Linked DNA regions of Homo sapiens: all the other regions are linked to region 7. The links are contacts of gene promoters, found by promoter capture Hi-C in blood cells and fetal thymus (Javierre and others, 2016). All regions are on one chromosome and are shown on one strand. Each heading gives the region's core, a stretch centred on a gene start or on the middle of the fragment in contact. The rest is flanking DNA. Distances are from core to core; before and after follow the strand shown. Region 1 overlaps LOC105375716 (a long non-coding RNA gene). Region 2 has its middle 26 kb from the start of MED30. Region 3 overlaps MED30 (mediator complex subunit 30). Region 4 has its middle 44 kb from the start of MED30. Region 5 overlaps LOC105375716 (a long non-coding RNA gene). Region 6 overlaps LOC105375716 (a long non-coding RNA gene). Region 7 holds the start of EXT1 (exostosin glycosyltransferase 1).

Region 1 (2,700 bases), core at 40-2,539, 660 kb after region 7:
GATACTCAGCCATGACCAGAACCAAAGACCTCACCACTATTCCTTATTTTTATAGTCATCACTTTCCAATGCCACTGTCTCATGTTTTTGTTCCTATTTCTTAACCTTTTCTCCATTCCTCATGAGACTTAAATGCTTACTCTCAAGAGCAAAAGCATTATTTTTCATGAATAGGGGAACTTAAACAAGATATTTAAGTTTCTTGATTCTTAGTTTATTCATCTAAGATTATGGTCAAATTTTATTAGGCAATATTTTTTTTTTTTTTTTTTTTTTTTTTTGAGACGGAGTCTCGCTCTGTCGCCCAGGCCGGACTGCGGACTGCAGTGGCGCAATCTCGGCTCACTGCAAGCTCCGCTTCCCGGGTTCACGCCATTCTCCTGCCTCAGCCTCCCGAGTAGCTGGGACTACAGGCGCCCGCCACCGCGCCCGGCTAATTTTTTTTGTATTTTTTTTTTAGTAGAGACGGGGTTTCACCTTGTTAGCCAGGATGGTCTCGATCTCCTGACCTCATGATCCACCCGCCTCGGCCTCCCAAAGTGCTGGGATTACAGGTGTGAGCCACCGCGCCCGGCCTAGGCAATATTTAATAGGCAATGTTACTTACAGTGTGTTCCACAGGCTACCTATACCAGAGGAATCTGGAGAGGTTTGTTAAAAATAGAGATCCTTTAAATCCTTCCAGATCTACTTAATCAGAATCCTGACTGAATTGACTCTGGGGATCTGCCTTTTTACCAAGTTGCACAGAGGACCCTTGTGTAAAGTTTGAAAACAGTGTGATAAGGCCATCATGAAGATTAAATGAGCCATATTCTATGAAGCACCTGAAATGTAAGTGCTTAATAAATACTGGTATTTATTATACTATTTTCTATTCCATATATTTTAGAAAGATATTTTAAATAAATATGCCAATATGTGAAATATTTTGATCCTATTCAGAGACTATAATTAGATACAGTACACACACACACACACACACACACACACACATCTATATATGTAGTGCTTCTACTAACTAAAATACCACATGATCCAGGCTTTTTTTGTTATTTATTAGAACACTCAATAAAAAAGAAGTATATTTGATGTGAAATATAGAACTTAAAATCTTTCAGTAATCAGGATCCATCAAAATATTTCAGCCTTGTAAAATATGTGGAAAGGTTACTATTTCTTTTTTTCCCCAGAACTCTAAAAAGGAAACTAAAATTCAATAGGAACATACACAGTGTGTTTAAAAAGGGAGCCAAATACATTGCTATTCTGACTTGTGGTTTATCAAAGTGAATTCTAGTAAAAGAAGAAAATATCAGCGATTTTAAAGAGTGTTACGAGGTTCCAAATCCATAGTTCCCCCCAAAGTTAATTGTCTTAATTGTTATAAGTGATTTAGAGGTTTTAAACATTAATTAAAGTAAAGTAAAAATGAATAACCCTGTAAGTAATATCCTCCTTGGCTTAATGACATGCAGAATCAATTGTGTACAGCATTTAACATGCATTTTTGGAAAATTGGCTTCCTTTTTAGAGATGGCAGCCAAGACATAGCTGCAAGGCAATCACCATCAATTACCAGGTTACTTCTGTTTTAGTTATAGTATAATTTTCACTGGAAATTAATTATATTGTTGGGGTTTTGGGGTGTTAATTAATCATCCATCTCCTGAGCCGAGCTCAAGTCTGAAATCTATGAGAAAATTGCTAGGAGTAAGATGAACAGGGATCAAAATACTAGAATTATTTGTAAATATAGATTGGGAAATTTACTGGGATCTATGGTCACCACTGGGCTTTCTGCTACCTTTATCCCTAGGCATAGCTGAAGAAGTTGGATCTGCCAAGTAGAATCACTTATCTAGAATTATTGCCTCACAAATGTTGAAGTCTATTAGTGGTGACTGAGAGAAACAGGCATGCAGACCAACATCTAGACAAAATACCTTGATTTCGATCTATGTGTCCTCACCTCAGGGATGCACAATTGGTGGGAGTATGAATAAAAAGAATGAGGTAGCAACTGAGTCATACATGTTTGGTTCCTTCACCAAATCTTAGGACATAAATTTTTACATTAGGGTGAAGGTAGAAAGTTGCAGTGCAGGATGCTTCCATTTATAATACTTTAGGGTCGAACTGGAAGCTCCTTTTAGGGTTGAGTACTGTATGTCCCTTTCTACCTCCCTCTTTCCCATATGTCTGCCCACTCTGCTGCCTAGTAAAATTCAAAACAATTAAGGGAATTTAATTGGATAACAACCAAATGCTACCATCAAAATACACAAATACTAACGTCTATGTTACATCTCGTATTTGGATAGATTTAAATATATTTCTAAAGCTCTTTCATAAATACTGTGTATTAACTACATATTGTATGTGTGGCCGAGATGCGAGTTGACCTTTGAGTTTCAAAGAAAGTTGGCTCAAACTCCTTCCTATGGACAGTGGCAGAGATAGTTCATGTGTGTATATATGATTGTGCAGTTGTGGGAGTGGTAATGGCAGTGATGTCTGCATCATCCTGGTCGTCTTTGGGGCTGAGATCTGGCTTCTGATCAAATAGGACAGTGTCTGAATTATCCTCTAATACCAAGTGTGCTGTCCTCATTCCATGATGTATATGTTGAACACAAACCCTTTCTTCCATTTCCTTCAAAAATGACAAAAAAGAAAAACAAAAATGCTCCCATGAGG
Region 2 (2,700 bases), core at 124-2,623, 570 kb after region 7:
TAGGGGTGGGAAATATAAAGAGAGATGATGTTAGCGCCATTCTCAGATATGCTCTTTTTCTTTTCCACGACCTGTTCAGAAAGACCTTTACAACCCTGAAGAAGCAGAAAATAAGATAAAGCGTTCTGTGAGAAAAGACTCTGAGAAAAAAAGCAAGATGCTGTTCATGTGTTCCAGGAAGCTATGATTCTTAACTGGTGTTGGTCATGTAGCCATAGTAGAAGGGCACATGTGGTGGTAGCGGTGGTGTGGACAGGAGTACTTAACATTTACCAAGTGCTTGTTATCAATCAGGTCCATGCTAAGTCTGCACAGATATGATTATCTTTTTTTGTTGTTGTTTTTAGGGCAAGGGTTTTGCTGATTGCTGGGAGGAGTTCAAGGTCTGAAGAGTCTAACTCTTTCAGAGACATTGAGATTTTAATACCACACATCTGTCAGTGTTATAACCATGTTTTTGACTTGTGTAGTAAGTTTATTGGTTAAAAACAAGGACTCTTTATTTTTTGTGGAGACGGAGGTCTCACTTATATTGCCCAGGCTGGTCCTGAACTCACGGGCTCAAAAAATCCTCCCACCTCAGCCTCCTTGGGATTACAGATGTGAGCTGCTGCACCTGAATAACTGGGGGGCTGAAGTGGGAGGTTTGCTTGAGCCTGGGAGGTTGAGGCTGTAGTGAGCCATGATTGTGCCACTGCACTCCAATCTGGGTGACAGAGCAAGACCTTGTCTCAAAAAAAGAAAAAAAAAAAAGGCACCAGTACTCTTGGAGCCAGACTGACTGAGATTTGAAGCCAGTTCAGCTACTTTCTAGCTGTGTGGCCTTGGGCAAGTGATTTAACCTCTCTGGGTTTATGTTTTCTGGTCTGTAAAATGGAAGGAATACTATAGTTTTTATTTTAGGAAGTTGTGTGGATTAAATGAGTTACTACATTTAGAACAGGGTCTGGCAGAAAAAAAAAATCTACCACCTTTGTTGATTCTCTATAACTTCTCCAGGGAAAAACATGTGCCTTGCTTTCAGTCTTCACCCTTTTTTCTATCATGTGCTTAAGGTTCCTGATCTGTAAAAAGGCAATAATGTAATATCTATCTCATATGATTGTTTTCATGATTTAGTGATATACTGTATATTACTACCTCTTCATAACAGGCTGTCAATCAGTGAGTTTGGACTACTCTTGATATCATAGTATAGAAGCTTATTCTAAGATTTTGCTTTATCTTTAATTTTATGGGTACCACAATGAAAGCATTCATATATAAATTTAATCATTAACATATAATTATTTTGACTTCAGAAGTATTATTTCTTGCATCAAATGTTGTTTTTAAAAAAGAAGTAACTGCTTGAGGCAATATAAAAAGTAGAAAGATTATTTCCTAATCTGTGGAACTTGCAAACTACAATGAATTCTGAATCAAGCAAGCTCAACCACTATAACTGGATATCTGTGAGTGTCATTGCATTGTGCTGGGTGGGGAAAGAGGGAGAATTAATCCCATTCCCAGGAGCTTTTCATTTACTTGGGCAGACAAAGCTTCACACACATGAAACTAAAACATTAGAGCAGAGGGCAGATGTGATGAATCCATGAGCCCTCAGAGTTCAGGGATGACAGAAATCAGTGTGGAAAGATCTCGGGGGCAGCAGTGGGCTTTGAGATGAATCTTGAAGGATGGTTCAGGATTTAGCCAGAAAGAACAAAGAGGGGACAGTAGGGTATGCAAGCTGAAGAAGAGGTCATGCCAAGGCTGGCTTTGTCCACACATGTGATTGAGGTGAGAGGTGAAGCATCCTGAAAGGCAGTTATTGCACTTGGCGTGTCCAAGGGAGATACACATTTATAAAACATATTTGAAATAAAGACTGACAGAAATTGGAGATGGATAAGACAAATGATAGAAGGAGACAGATAGGATCAAAATAGCTCTGGGCAGGGCAGGGAGTTAGGGCTTTGCTAAAAGAGAAAATGGCAGTGGTGATGCCATTTTCTAACTGAGTTGTTGAAATTCCACTGCTTTGATGAAAGCAGTTGGAGAAAATGCTGGCTTATGGGGAGGGGGAAATAAATGATTATGCATTTATTTTTTAAATCTTTAGTTTTTATCCAAGTAGGGATGATATCTGACATCTACAGATCCCCTTCCCTTTTCGTGGAGGCACAATGCTAGCTCCTTATCTCATTTCATCCTTGCAAATGATGGAGTTGTTTGCTAGGTAAGGCATTGGTAGATTTTTAAAGTATTTGGCTCTTGTAAATATAAATGTTCCTCAGAGCTGTTTAAAAATAAAACTCGTGTAAGAACATACTATTTGTCCCTTTTATAGAAGAGAAAATCAAGTCATAAGCAACTCGAAAATTCTGCTCAAAGGAACAGCTGGTAAGCGGCAGAGCTGGGATTCAGGCAGTTTGTCTCCAGGGTCCATATTCTCACCCTCTATTCAGGACTCAGCCATAGGAGAGGGTGAGAATGCCCTAAGATGGTATTGCCCTCCACCATCTGAAAGAAAAAGACCCTTCTCCCACCGACTCCTCTCCCTCTCCCCCACAAATACAGAAACAGTTGTAAACAAGCAAGAAAGGACACAAGACTGGTGCAAAACACTTGTTACAAAATCCTTTAAAGGTCAAGGAAAAAAATAATTCTCCAAACAGAGGCCAGTAGCTTTAGGAAACACCCCAAACTCTTTGACCT
Region 3 (2,700 bases), core at 169-2,668, 580 kb after region 7:
AACTGTCATTTGTCCACTGTCTTTTTGTACTGGCTATAACTTCTAAAATAATATTAAACATAGTGTTATAAAGTATCTTATTTCATGCTTGTTTTTAATAAGGATATTTCTATATTTCACCTTATGAAAAATGTTGGGTATTTATCTAAAAGAAAAAGATTTAAAAAAAAAACACACTGTCTTGCTAATAGTTTTAAGTGTCCTTTGAATCAGCAACAGTATTGAATTTTATCAGATGTCTTTTAGACATGTGAGAAAATCTTTTTTCAAGGTAGTTTACTGACATCATGTATTATACATACAAACTGAACTATAAAATCTTCATATACCTCAGAAGACTCTCTTTGGCAGTGGTGGATTATTAATACACTGATGAGTTCTATTAATTAGAATTAAGAATTTCAGGAAGGGGCAATCTATATTTGTCAGTGAAAGAGTGATGCTGAAAGTTTTATTCACTGTGCTATCTCTGGTAGGTTTTGCTAAGCTGGGGCCACATTTCCATCCCCAGAATGAACTGACACCTTTCCCTATTTCTCTCTGTTTCACGAGAACTATTTGAACATTATCTTCTGAACTTTTGAAAGTATTCAGCGATAAATACATTCCAGTTACAAGCTTTTTGTGGGGTTGGAGTAGATAATAATGCTGGGATAGTTCTCTAAATTTTTTATTCAGGTGTTGAGACATTCACATTTCATATTTGTAAATTTTTATCATTTGCTGCTCCAAATATGCTATAAGCTAGAAAGGTAGAATTCTGCCCAGAAAAGAAAAAAGTAAATGGATTGTGACTAAGTGTCTAAGGAGCTCTTCTAAGAGCTTTATCGAATGAATTTTGCAATTTCTCTTCTGACTATTCAGACAGCATTTCTGCTTACCTTTCATTTCTTGGCTGTATTCTAAATAGGTGAAGTTTGCCGCAGAAACAACTTCATGTAATTTGATAATTCAAATTATGTTTTGGAGTTACATCAGACTCCCTAGTAATTTTTATCAATAACTCTAAAACATAAAATGTAAAAACTAACAACTCACTTTATTTACTTCAGCAATTTCTCGCCTCTCTTCACTAGCAAAACGAGGTGGGCCAGCCCGATCATCATTCTTTGAGCCATCTTCTTCCACATATGGAATAAGTTGCTGGGAATGATTAACAAAAATTAAAAGGCAAAAATATAATTCAAGTTTTCTAATCACTTGTATAGAGAATATATCAGATTAAGGTCAATTTTTATACTTTTATTTGTATAAAAATAATTTCAATTCAGGTGATGGCCTGAAATAAGAGCTTTAATAGTTGACCATTTCAATGCATTCTATGCATTACCCTTTCAGGTTTCTTTTGCAAAACAGCCTTTATAACATTGGTTGTCATGTACAACTAAACAATACTTCCAGCAGGAAGATGGGAGAAGTAAAAAATAAAATAAAATAAAATAAAAATTTAAAAAAACCCTACTCAATCAGCAAATATTTAATTATGAAACACTATAAAAGTAATGCCAAACAAGATGTGATTCCTGCCCCTAAGAGATTTGTAGTCTATTGAGATAGATAAAACAGGCTTTCCTTCATCTGCAATAAAAAGAAAAGAACTTCACGGATCTGTATTATATAATTGTCATTAACTTGCAATCTAAAACTTCAGAGTCTATGCAAACTTCTAGATGTCTTAAGTTTTCGCAGTTGTGAGAACTTTTTCTTTGTAGGAGAAACAAATTTATATAGCAATGAAACTTCTAGCAGAATCGTAATTAAGTATGCATGGTTAGTGATGGAATTTACCGCATAAGTGTGGCAGACTTCAGGAATCACCTAGCCTTTACCATCGTGTATTACCAATGCAAGAATAGGCTAAAGGTAAATGACTGGTAAAACTAGGATTCACCTGATAAAACTTCTTCAAATTCTTGGGATATATATAAACTCACCCATGTCTACATTCTCCTTTTCTTTCTTTCATCTGTCTCAATGCAGAGCTGTCCTTCCTCCTGAAGACGATTAGTCTCCATTCCTGTGCCCTGATTACTCTGCCCTCCTGTCTTCATTATTTATACACCTTTCTCTCAACCTCTCCCTACAGCTTTCTTCCTTTATTATTCAAACATGTTCCTATCTCTTCTATTTGGAGGGAAGCTCCTCTTCCTCCTGCAAACCTTCGATTCCATCTCTCCTTCCATCTACTGCTTTCCTCTCTTATTTTTTTCAAAGCTTCTTGAAAGACTGATATCCACTTGCCGGCTCCAGCTTCTTATTTCCTGTTTAATCTTCACCCGACTAGGATCAGACTTCACGCTGCTATCATTTCACTGAAGCTCTACTCAAATATACCAACAATTTTCATCTAGCAAAATCTACTGGACAGTTTTCATTCCTTATTTTCCCTGACTTCTCTGTAGCATCTGACGATGTAGGCCACATTTCTGATCTTTCTCCCACATCTCTGACCCCTTCTTTTTAGGCATTTTTGCAGTTTAATTTTTCTCTGGTCATCTCTTACCAGCTTCCTTTGGTGGCAGAGATATAATTTGTCAACAGGAAAGGGTGACTTATAGAAATATATGCCTAATTAACTAAATAGGTATGACCCAAGATTAAATTTAGAGAATATATTTTTAAAATATAGTGATTCCACTGGGCTAAATATAAAATCCAAATTAATAATAATAAAAATAATATTTTATCTGTAAAGTACTT
Region 4 (2,700 bases), core at 154-2,653, 550 kb after region 7:
TCTGTAAGAAAGGATGTTTTGCTCAGCAGAGTATAATATTCCTATAGTCATAAAATATAAACAAACAGTACTATTTAACCAGAAGTGTGAACAGTAATACTCTTAAAGGATAGTTATATGGATAAGAGTATGTGTGTCAGTGTATGTGAGGAGGAAAGCTAACCTTTATCTAACAAAGTATAAGTGGTCAATGCTATGAAACCAACACATAAAAAAAATAAGAATAAATACATTATAAAATTATGGAGATACATTCTGAAAGAAACAATTAAGAGAGCCAAAAGTTGTTGATAGTGTGAAATATAACCACCATTTTCTACTATAAACCTTTTACTGCTATTTGATTTTTCAACAATTTTGTGCATTACTTTGATAAAAATCAAAGTTGGTTTAAAAAATAAGAAGCATGGATAAATTTTTTTAAGAAGATATTGAATAGATCTGTGCAACTGATGACTGGTTCTTATCCAGAAAATAGAAGTCTGGGACAAATTAAAAAGTGAACTATGCTGTACTAAAATAAAAAGCTTCTGAAGATATTGCCTAAATATTCAATTATACTTATTGAATTTTTGGGGGAGAAGAGAATATGTTATCATTATCTTTTTACATTTGGAAATTCTTGAAGATCTTTGATTACATTCCTATGAACATCAAAGATTTATTAAACTGAATACTAACAAAGCAACTAAATTTTGAAGCTATTTCTGACATCGGAAGAAGTCCATACTTCACTGAGATGTTTTGGAGGATTCCTTTGGGTAGAAGCTTCCTCTGGTCCATTTAAGTGTTTGTAGACATCAACTTCTAGGAAAAATATCGAGAATATCAAGAGACAAGGTACCAAAGCCAAAGAGCTAGGTGTTGCTGCCATGTTTTGAGGATTTCTTTTTTTTGTTGTTGTATTTTTAATTGACACATAATAATTGTACATATTTATGGGGTACAGTGTGATGTTTTGATACATGCATAAAATGATCAAATTAGGGTAATTATCTTCTTGATAATTTCTAAGACGATCAGATAAAGAAGTTCAGGCACTGCAGCGTGAATTAACAGGAAGACTTCCTTCACCAAACATTGCCATCTATGCTACTTTTTCTTTTTTTGAGACAGACCTTACTCTGTTGCTCATGCTGGAGTGCAGTGGTGCAATCTCAGCTCACGGCAACTTCCACCTCCTAGATTCAAGTGATTCTCATGCCTCACCCTCCTGAGTAGCTGGGATTACAGGCATGAACCATCACACCCGGCTAATTTTGGTATGTTTAGTAGAGATGGGGTTCCCCATGTTGCCCAGGCTGGTCTCGACCTCCTGGCCTCAAGTGATCCACCCACCTCAGCCTCCCAAATTGCTGGGATTATACATGTGAGCCACTGCGCCCAGCCTATAAGTATAAGTGGTCAATGCTATTAAATCAATACATAAAAAATATAAGAATAAATACATTATAAAATTATGGAGGTATATTCTGAAAGAAGCAACTAAGAAAGCCAAAAGTTGTTGATAGTGGGAGATATAACTGCTGTTTTCTACTATAAACATTTTACTGCTATTTGTATTAAAATAAAAAGCATCTGAAGATATTGCCTAAATATTCAATTATACTTATTGAATTTTGGGGGGAGAAGAGAATATGTTATCATTATCTTTTTACACTTGGAAATGTAAAACGTAAAATGCTACTCTTGAGGAGCATAACCACTATGTTGTTAAGCAAGGTGCATATTTGCAACTGCTTAGCGGAATGACCAAATCCACAAACTCTTTCAGCATGAGTTGGAAACTGCTAAAATTAAAAAAACTTCCAAACTACCTAAACCTTTAACATTTTTTAAAGAAAGAAAAAATCAATCTCCTCGAACAAAGTTAAAGGTGAATTTGTGTCACTTTTGAAAAATGTTGACTCTTTTGTTGCAAAAATAATGTAACTGCAACTGTTGCCTTTACTGGCAGGAAAGCAGCAACACACATTCAATCTTGAAGGAGTAAACATAAAGGGCAGGTCATCCCTGCATCCTCGTTAGGCAAAGCTTGCTGACAGTGTCTTCACAGCTCTTTAAATAGATGGTGACATGCCATGGCCCCTTCTCTATCACTCGAACCTGTAATTCACCCCCAAGTTATAAAATGACAGAGCTGGTCAAAGAGCAAGGCTGATGGCAGCTCCCATTTGGTGCATTTTGTCATCTTTGCTGACTTCCAGAAAGCCACCTCCTCCACCTTCAGTACCTCTACTTTCTCCGAATGACCACTCAAGGTAGCCTCTGTAAGGTGAGATCAGCTGCGTCACACTCTCCAGAGTGTTAACAGAAAAGAAGGACAAGGAAATCAAAGCAGCAGTCTCTTTTGTTGACATTTCCAAACAGGGACATTTCAGTCTCCAAGGCATCTCACTGGGGAAAGAAGATACCAGTGCAACAGGACAGAGGTTGACAATGTTCTCCAGTTTCCAGATTTATACAGGACTGGTGAGGAACAGCTGCTGCCAGTGCTGAAATGACACATGAGCCCTGAGCACCAGCTGGACAGCATCTTCTTGCAGGGAACCTAGGGAAAGGCCTTTCTGCCTCTCCTTCATTGTGAACTTAGGCAGGCCCTGCTTCCCCCTTGTTTACTCCAGAGGCCCTGGTGAATGCCTTAGGCTGCTGTGAAACTTCAGAAGAGAAGAGCTCAAATAATTTAGGATGCTGATTCCT
Region 5 (2,700 bases), core at 11-2,510, 600 kb after region 7:
GGTGATTGTGTGGTGAGTTGGGGTCTGGGCTGCCCCCACCTTTTCTCTCTCTTCCTAAGACTGGCCCTCTGAACAGAATAGTGCCTTCTCCTCCACTTCTTGGGCTCTGTCCCTGCCCTGCCAGGGATTGGCAGTCAATTCAAGGGGAAGTCAATGCTAAGCCATATTCTGTAATCTAGCTTTACCAATAATTAGGCTGCTATTTTACCTTCATCTCTCTCTGTACCGATTTCTCATCACATTTGATCTGAGAGGGTAAGAGAAAATATTATGACCTTTAAATCTCAATGTATGGTTTAATAGAAAAAGAAATAGAAAATGAAGACAAATTCACTTGTCTTCCTGAAATTCTGCTTTCATCATGTCAGTCTCTGCATATTTCCTTTGTAGGATTTCAGTGGTCTCCATAAAAAGGCTCAGTTCTCTGATTTTCAAAGCCTTCTATTGCTTACTTTCACTCTACTAGAGCAACCTTTTTTTTTTTTTTTTTTTTTTTGCTGTATTAAGGAGGTTGACAAATAACATTGGCAATGGTATTTGCCATCTTCATTTCCATCTTAGGTTCTTCTTCCTTAGCCATTTCTGTGCCATATGACTCCTGGTCATAGCTGATTGGATCAGGATGACCATCTGGCCCAAGGGCAACCAATTTCTAGGCTGGCCAGTGATGTGTAACCTGCTCTGGTACAAAAAGCTTTACCCAAGCAGGATTGAAGGTAATAACCTGGACCAATCAGATTGTCTTTCTTAGGACTTTGAATAGGGAAATAAAGAGTGAATTAGACAAAGGGAAAGGTGCCAGAGGAGAAGTGAACCCAAAGAGAAGCAGGATCTGGGAGAGAGGCTGGTGGCATTAGAAGAGAAGACTGGAGTGAAGTTGTTCTTCGGTAGCAGCCTAGTGTACCCTTTATTTAGTCAACTTTATTTGACCTTAGAGGGCATGCTTTCTTCACCAGCTGGTCACAATGTTGCACTTAAAATCTGGAATCCTGAACATCCCCTGGGGGCTTTGTGTGTTCTGCTCATGTCCTCTCTCCTCGGCTCTTGCATCTTTTCCACCTGTGCACTGTTCCTTCACAGCACTAATAATCTTTTGCAATTGTATTTTTATTTGCATATCTGTTTATTCAATAACTGCTTCTTCTAGTAGGCTGGGAGCAACCTATGGGGGCAAGGATTAGTGCATTTTTGTTCACTACTGTGTTCTTAGTATTTTGCTCAGTGCCTCGGCATGGTAGATTCTTAATATTCATTGAATGAATGAATGATAGTGAATTTTTCTCCCACTTCTGCTGATTTCCCTCTACCTTTCTCAAGTCCAGACTCAAGACCCTTTGCTTATTTCTCTGTCTCAGTGTTGCCTTCTTTGCTCTTTTAATTGCATTTATAGTTTAACCACTACAAGGTATTTATTATACTGCTGTTATTCCTTAACTGTTGTATGTATTCAAAGTTAATTTTTACATGAATGGAAGCAGGTATAGTGACTCTTTCCATGTACCCCTTTCTTCTCCAAAATGCCTAGCACAGTGCCAGACCTGTCATGAATATTTGATAAACGCTTGGTGGCCTATAACAAAGTCCCTTTCAGTGACTGAGCCAAAAGATGGAGGCTCAAGGTGCCATGAAATCCTGGAGACTTACTTTTTGAGGCTTGTACATTAGGAAAAAATGTCTTTAGAGGAAAAAACTGTGGTTTCTACCAACATTGTCCTAATGATCAAAAATGGAAGGTCCACAGATGCAGAGCTCTGGAATAAGCACTGGAGAATTTTTAAGGTCTATTTTCAAACATAGTTCTAATGTGTATTTCAATTAAAGCTTAAACACACAACTAGCACCTCCTTTGTTCTTTGAACGCTAATAATCAGATTCACAGGTTACCTTTGTATGAACAAAGTCATAAATGGTGAGTAAGCCTTGCTTATTCACTCAAAAACTAGACTTTAAGATTTATTAGCTTACATTTCCAAACTCAAAATTATTGTATTTATTTTCACTTTTGAGAGCTATTGTATCTTACCCCTATTTTATTTTTTGAGAGAAGGTCTTAGTCACCCAGGCTGGAGTGCAGTGGTACAGTCAGCTTAATGCAGCTTTGACTTCCCACTCAAGCAATCCTCCCACCTCAGCCTCCTGAGTAGCTGGGACCACAGGTGTCCACCACCACACTCAGGTAATTTTTTTATTTTTTATTTTTGTAGAGACAGAGGATTTTCACTATGTTGCCCAGATGGGCCCTGAATTCCATGGCCTCAAGCAATTCTCCCACTTTGGCCTCCCAAAGTGCTGGGATTACTGGGATAAGCCACCATGCCAGACCCCTTAATTTTTTTTAAATTATTGTTTCATCTCACTCTACTTCCAGATTATAAAAATCTTTGAAAGTAGGTACCATATCTTCTTTTTAAAACACAAGTAGCATTTATTATCTTAATGTTTTATTTCTTGTTAAGGTAAAATTCATATACGATAAAACTGCACATATTTAAAGTGAACGATTTGATAAGTTTTGACATATATTTACACTAAAAATCTATTACCACAACTAAGGTACCAAATGTTTCCATCACCTCCAAAAGTTCCTCCGTGTCACTTACACTTTGTCTTTCACTGCATTTCTTACCTCAGGCAACCTCTGGTCGATTATAGGTAAACTTAGATTTTCTAAACTTCTATAAAAATGGAAATATACAGTAG
Region 6 (2,700 bases), core at 59-2,558, 620 kb after region 7:
TCCTGTAGATCAATTTATTTGACTTACTTCTAGAATATTCTATTTGTATAGTTTGCCTTTCTCATACTCTAATACTAGTCAGTAGTGAAGGCGGAGGGAACCTTAATTCTTTTGGTTTTTATATTCCTGTTTGATCTTTTAAAAATCTCATTCAAAAAGACTTGAAGATACAAAGCCGTTCTTTGGCAACAGGCAGTGTGGATGCACAATCATTTAAGTCTTGGGCCACAGATTGAAGTTCCTGCTCTGGAGCACAGGGGCCTCCACAGCCAGAACTGTGGAAGGTGCCTTAGCAGTAGGTGCTGGAATTGTGCTATCCCCCATCACAAGCCTGGGGTGGGAGGAGAATTTCTATAGCAGCAGTTTCTTCTAGATGATGAGACTTATAGCCAGGTCCAACTTGGAAATCTGGAATGGGTCTGTGTGTGTCATTGCTGGGAGTTCCAGCCTGCTCCCCTGAGATTTTGGTACGGTGGGGCCCTCTACTCTACCCACAGGCAGAAATAAAGCATTAAGACAGCCTGGACCAGCAGCCTGAGCCATTCTACCCTTCATGGACATAGATTGTGGTGCAGTAGGGCCCTCTCTGCTTTACACACAGGCAGATCTCCAGGCATTTGGAGCAACCACTCACATGGGTTAGCAGATTGGGTTTCCCTACCCTTCCTGTGCAGAAATCCTATGCACAAAAAATAATTACAAAAATTAGTGCCAGCATCTCCAGAGGAGAAGGTACCAGAGCAAGAATTCAGGCACCATGAAAAATCTGAATGCAGGGACATCACCACCAAAGGATTGCACTAACTCTCCAGCAATGGTTCCTAACCAAAATAGAAGCTCAGAAATAACAGGTAAACAAGACAAGCATGGATTGAAAGAATGCTCAACAAGATCAAGGAAAATGTTGAAAATCCACACAAAGAAGCTTCTAAAACAATCCAGGAAATGAAGGAAGAGATAAACATCTTAAAAAGAACTCAATCAGAGCTTCTGGAATTGAAAATCTCACTTAAAGGACTTGAAAATACAAAGAAAGCTTTATCAATAAACTGGAACAAGCAGAAAAAGAATTTCAGAGCTTGAAAACTGATCTTTTGAACTAACCCAGTCAGAAAAAAATAAAGAAAAAACAAATTTTAAAAAATGAGTAAAGTCTTTGAGAAATATGGGAGTATGTAAAGTGACCAAACCTTCAAATGCTGGCATTTCTGAGAGAAATGAAGAGAAATAAAACAACCTGGAAAATATATTTAATAAAATAATTCAAGAAAATTGCTCTAATCTTGCTAGAGGGAGACATCTGGATATGAGAAATCTAGAGAACTCCTGTGAGATACTATAAAAAATGAACATCATTAAGGCATATAGTCACCAAACTGTCCAAGATCAAAACTAAGAAAAAATCTTAAAGGCAGCTAGAGAAAAAGGTCACATTATGTACAAAGGGAACCCCATTAGGCTTACAGCAGACTTCTTAGCAGAAACCTTATAAGCCAAGAGAGACTGGAGGCCTTTTTTAAGCATTTTTTAAAAAAAGAAATTCCAACCAAGAATTTCAAATCCTGCCACACTAAGCTTCATAACTGAAGGGAAAATAAAATGTTCTCCAAACAACCAAACACTAAGGGAGTTGGCTACCACTTGGCCAACCTTGCAAGAGATCTTTAAGGGTTTCTAAACATGGAAGTGAAAGAACAATACCTCCTACCACAAAAACACACCTAAGTACAGAGCTCATAGACACTATAAAGCAACCACAATAGAAACTGCAAAGCAACCAGCTAACAACTTCATGATAGCATCAAAATTTCACATATAAATGTAAACCTTGAATGTAAGTGATCTAACTGACCTACTTAAAAGGCACAGAGTGGCAAGTTGGATATAAAAAAAGCAAAAACAAAGTCCATTTGTCTGCCACCTTCAAGAAACCCATCTTACGTATAATGACACCTATAGACACAAAGTAAAGGGTGAGAGAAATATAGACAGAGCAATTAGGCAAGAGAAAGAAGTAAGTGCCATCCAAATAGGTTGAGAGGAAGTTAAACTATCCCTGTTTTCACATGACATGATTCTATATCTAGAAATCCCCATAGTCTTGACCCAAAAGCTCCTTTAGCTGATAAAAAATTTCAGCAAAATTTCAGGATAAAAAATTCAATATACAAAAATCAGTAGCATTTCTCTACACCAAAAGCAGCCAAGCTGAGAGCCAGATCAGGAACACAATCCCATTCACAATTGCCACAAAAAGAATAAAATGCCTAGGAATACAGCTAACCAGGGAAGTGAAAGATCTCTACAATGAGAACTACAAAACCCTGCTCAAAAAAATCAGAGAAGACACAAACGAATGGAAAAACATCCCATGCTCATGGATAAGAAGAGTCAATATCATTAAAACAGCCATATTTCCCAAAGCAATTTACAGATTCAATGCTATTCCTATCAAACTAACAATGACATTCTTCATAGAATTAGAAAAAATTATTTAAAAATTCATATGGAACCGAAAAAGAGCCCAAATAGCCAAGGCAATCCTAAACAAAAAGAACAAAGCTGGAGGCATTACATTACCCAACTTTAAAATCTACTACAGCTACAGTAACCAAAACATCATGGTACTGGTACAAAAACAGGCATATAAACCAATGGAAGAGAATAGAGAGCCCAGAAATAAGGCTGCACATCTATGAC
Region 7 (2,700 bases), core at 177-2,676:
TTATAACCCTGCCCTTCATCCACACCCCGCTGGGGTTTTTGCAGCCTGAGGGAAGCCGGGAAGTGTCTGCTCCTAGCTCTCAGTCACTCCCATAATAAACAATCACTAAACAGCCGGCTGCCCTAGGCAACTGTCTAGCTTGCCCGAGCCCTGAGACTTTAGCTAGGCCAGAGGGTGGGAGGTGTTTTCTGTAAAGCAGTGTTCAGGATCTGAGGCCAGGGAGTTTGACTTTGACCAGAGATACTGTTTGGGAGCCTAGCACATCTTTGTGGACCTGGAGGATCTTTAGCGGGACTGCTCCTCGGTTACCTGAGTTATCTAATGAAGTTCTTCCACTGGGAGTGGCAGGAGCTTGGGCCAAGGAGTGGGAGGTCAGTGAGGGAAGGACCAACTATTTGGCACTAATTGTACATAAGGTAGTTTTCCTGATGCAAGTGTTCCTTCTATAGCTGGGACAGTTGGCAATTCTACCAGTCATATGTCCTTAAGAGATATCTTTAACACCACCACCACCACCACCACCACCAAGAGAATAACATCACTTTGAGGACTGGGGCAAGCTTAAATTAACTGGTTTCCCTGCAGCCATTAGAAAATTTATTTTTTCTCTGTGATTGGATCTCTTGGAAGCTTTCTTCATAATAGACAGAGGGGGCTCAGGCAAGGCGGCCTAAGTAGATAATGAGGATTTAGGATAGCCGTCTTACACTCTTAGCACAGAGGCAGGCATGAAGAATTGCAACAATTCCTCTTGATTGTAATAATTCCTCTTTATTGTTGGGCATTGGGGTGTTTCTTTGGTTTAAAAAAATGTGCTATGTAGAGGAGGAGTAAGGGGAGATTGTTTTAATGCTTAGCAGAAAATTGAAATACTGGGTCTCGGAGAGTGGAAGGAGGGCTGGGAGAGGCAGCTTTCGGATCGGCGGTCGCTTTCTATGAAGTCTTCCTTTCCTCCCTGCTTCCCTCCTTCAAAGCATCTTTCTCTAGGCGTTCCGGCAGGCAGCCCAGGAGGCCAGATTCTCCAGGGCGCCCGGGGCCGCGCGGCACGGGGCCCCTGCCGGTGCCTCCTTCCCCGGCCGCCGCGTTTCCGCAGGCGCCTCTGGTCCCCGGCACGGCGCAGGCCGAGATCCGGGCCTGGGCGCGCCGAGGGGCCGCGGGGCTCGCACCGGGCCGTCCCGCGCTCCACCTGCCCGGCAGCCCGCCGGCAGCTTGCAACCCGGGAGCCCCGGCTCCCTGCGCCCCCTACGCCCCCAACGCCGCGCCGGCGCCTCGGCCCGCGGCCGGGGGTTATGAATGGGCGCAGCGGAAGCACCGCCCCCCCCGGACGTGACGCTCGGCCAATGGCAGCGCGGGCTGCGTGGATGGATGAGGTCAGCGCTGTCGTGTCGGGAATGGAATGTGTAAGTGTAACATTCAGAACCGGGTAACATTCGGCGACCGAACGCGGCGGTCGGCAGCGTTCGCGCGGGGGCCTGCGAAGCGCTGCTCGGGGCCGGCACTGCCCGCGGGGAGGACGCGCCGCCGCCGCCACCCAGCGCCGCCGCCGCCGCCGCCTCCAGCCGGGCCGCCGCGCGTCCCGGGGGCCGGCCCCGCGAGCGCAGGAGTAAACACCGCCGGAGTCTTGGAGCCGCTGCAGAAGGGAATAAAGAGAGATGCAGGGATTTGTGAGGTTACGGCGCCCCAGCTGCAAGATGCACTAGCCGGCTGAACCCGGGATCGGCTGACTTGTTGGAACCGGAGTGCTCTGCACGGAGAGTGGTGGATGAGTTGAAGTTGCCTTCCCGGGGCTCATTTTCCACGCTGCCGAGAGGAATCCGAGAGGCAAGGCAATCACTTCGTCTTGCCATTGATTGGGTATCGGGAGCTTTTTTTTTCTCCCCTCTCTCTTTCTTTTCCTCCGTCTTGTTGCATGCAAGAAAATTACAGTCCGCTGCTCGCCCGCCCTGGGTGCGAGATATTCAGCCCCGCTCTCTCCCGTGCATTGTGCAACCCAAAGATGAAAGACCGAAGGGGAGAAAGTTAAAGAAATCGCCCACATGCGCTGGATCAGTCCACGGCTTGGGGAAAGGCATCCAGAGAAGGTGGGAGCGGAGAGTTTGAAGTCTTTACAGGCGGGAAGATGGCGGACTGGAGCTGAAAGTGTTGATTGGGAAACTTGGGTGATTCTTGTGTTTATTTACAATCCTCTTGACCCAGGCAGGACACATGCAGGCCAAAAAACGCTATTTCATCCTGCTCTCAGCTGGCTCTTGTCTCGCCCTTTTGTTTTATTTCGGAGGCTTGCAGTTTAGGGCATCGAGGAGCCACAGCCGGAGAGAAGAACACAGCGGTAGGAATGGCTTGCACCACCCCAGTCCGGATCATTTCTGGCCCCGCTTCCCGGACGCTCTGCGCCCCTTCGTTCCTTGGGATCAATTGGAAAACGAGGATTCCAGCGTGCACATTTCCCCCCGGCAGAAGCGAGATGCCAACTCCAGCATCTACAAAGGCAAGAAGTGCCGCATGGAGTCCTGCTTCGATTTCACCCTTTGCAAGAAAAACGGCTTCAAAGTCTACGTATACCCACAGCAAAAAGGGGAGAAAATCGCCGAAAGTTACCAAAACATTCTAGCGGCCATCGAGGGCTCCAGGTTCTACACCTCGGACCCCAGCCAGGCGTGCCTCTTTGTCCTGAGTCTGGATACTTTAGACAGAGACCAG

What was found. Contacts are between HindIII fragments. The CHiCAGO score rates a contact against its expected background, and 5 or more counts as called.
Region 1: a fragment that was not itself captured here is called in contact with the fragment with the promoter of EXT1 in region 7 in 7 of 17 cell types (naive CD8 T cells, total B cells, total CD4 T cells and 4 more); the score reaches 14.3 in naive CD8 T cells.
Region 2: a contact is called between a fragment that was not itself captured here and the fragment with the promoter of EXT1 in region 7, in 7 of 17 cell types (naive CD4 T cells, monocytes, naive B cells and 4 more). The highest score is 6.9, in naive CD4 T cells.
Region 3: a contact is called between a fragment that was not itself captured here and the fragment with the promoter of EXT1 in region 7, in 13 of 17 cell types (naive CD8 T cells, total CD8 T cells, naive CD4 T cells and 10 more). The highest score is 13.3, in naive CD8 T cells.
Region 4: a contact is called between a fragment that was not itself captured here and the fragment with the promoter of EXT1 in region 7, in 1 of 17 cell types (total B cells). The highest score is 5.4, in total B cells.
Region 5: a contact is called between a fragment that was not itself captured here and the fragment with the promoter of EXT1 in region 7, in 10 of 17 cell types (naive CD8 T cells, total CD4 T cells, monocytes and 7 more). The highest score is 19.8, in naive CD8 T cells.
Region 6: a contact is called between a fragment that was not itself captured here and the fragment with the promoter of EXT1 in region 7, in 8 of 17 cell types (total CD8 T cells, naive CD8 T cells, naive CD4 T cells and 5 more). The highest score is 8.0, in total CD8 T cells.

The regions. Positions count from the first base shown.
Region 1 is chr8:117,449,292-117,451,991 of GRCh38, reverse strand. The region is part of intron 3 of LOC105375716 (a long non-coding RNA gene); the gene reads left to right. Among named protein-coding and RNA genes, the nearest start is that of MED30, 70 kb to the left of the region's middle. The HindIII fragment of the contact is 7,419 bases long and covers 1-2,700 here.
Region 2 is chr8:117,545,475-117,548,174 of GRCh38, reverse strand. No RefSeq gene overlaps it. Among named protein-coding and RNA genes, the nearest start is that of MED30, 26 kb to the right of the region's middle. The HindIII fragment of the contact is 340 bases long and covers 1,204-1,543 here.
Region 3 is chr8:117,529,166-117,531,865 of GRCh38, reverse strand. It overlaps MED30 (mediator complex subunit 30), which reads right to left. Exons shown (of 4, transcript NM_080651.4): 3 at 1,039-1,143. Among named protein-coding and RNA genes, the nearest start is that of MED30, 9.8 kb to the right of the region's middle. The HindIII fragment of the contact is 1,596 bases long and covers 621-2,216 here.
Region 4 is chr8:117,563,272-117,565,971 of GRCh38, reverse strand. No RefSeq gene overlaps it. Among named protein-coding and RNA genes, the nearest start is that of MED30, 44 kb to the right of the region's middle. The HindIII fragment of the contact is 1,266 bases long and covers 771-2,036 here.
Region 5 is chr8:117,510,326-117,513,025 of GRCh38, reverse strand. The region is part of intron 2 of LOC105375716 (a long non-coding RNA gene); the gene reads left to right. Among named protein-coding and RNA genes, the nearest start is that of MED30, 9.0 kb to the left of the region's middle. The HindIII fragment of the contact is 1,127 bases long and covers 697-1,823 here.
Region 6 is chr8:117,494,180-117,496,879 of GRCh38, reverse strand. The region is part of intron 2 of LOC105375716 (a long non-coding RNA gene); the gene reads left to right. Among named protein-coding and RNA genes, the nearest start is that of MED30, 25 kb to the left of the region's middle. The HindIII fragment of the contact is 539 bases long and covers 1,039-1,577 here.
Region 7 is chr8:118,110,552-118,113,251 of GRCh38, reverse strand. It overlaps EXT1 (exostosin glycosyltransferase 1), which reads left to right and starts at 1,426. Exons shown (of 11, transcript NM_000127.3): 1 at 1,426-2,700. The coding sequence starts at 2,206. RefSeq lists silencers at 1,004-1,383, 1,484-1,573. The HindIII fragment of the contact is 5,337 bases long and covers 633-2,700 here.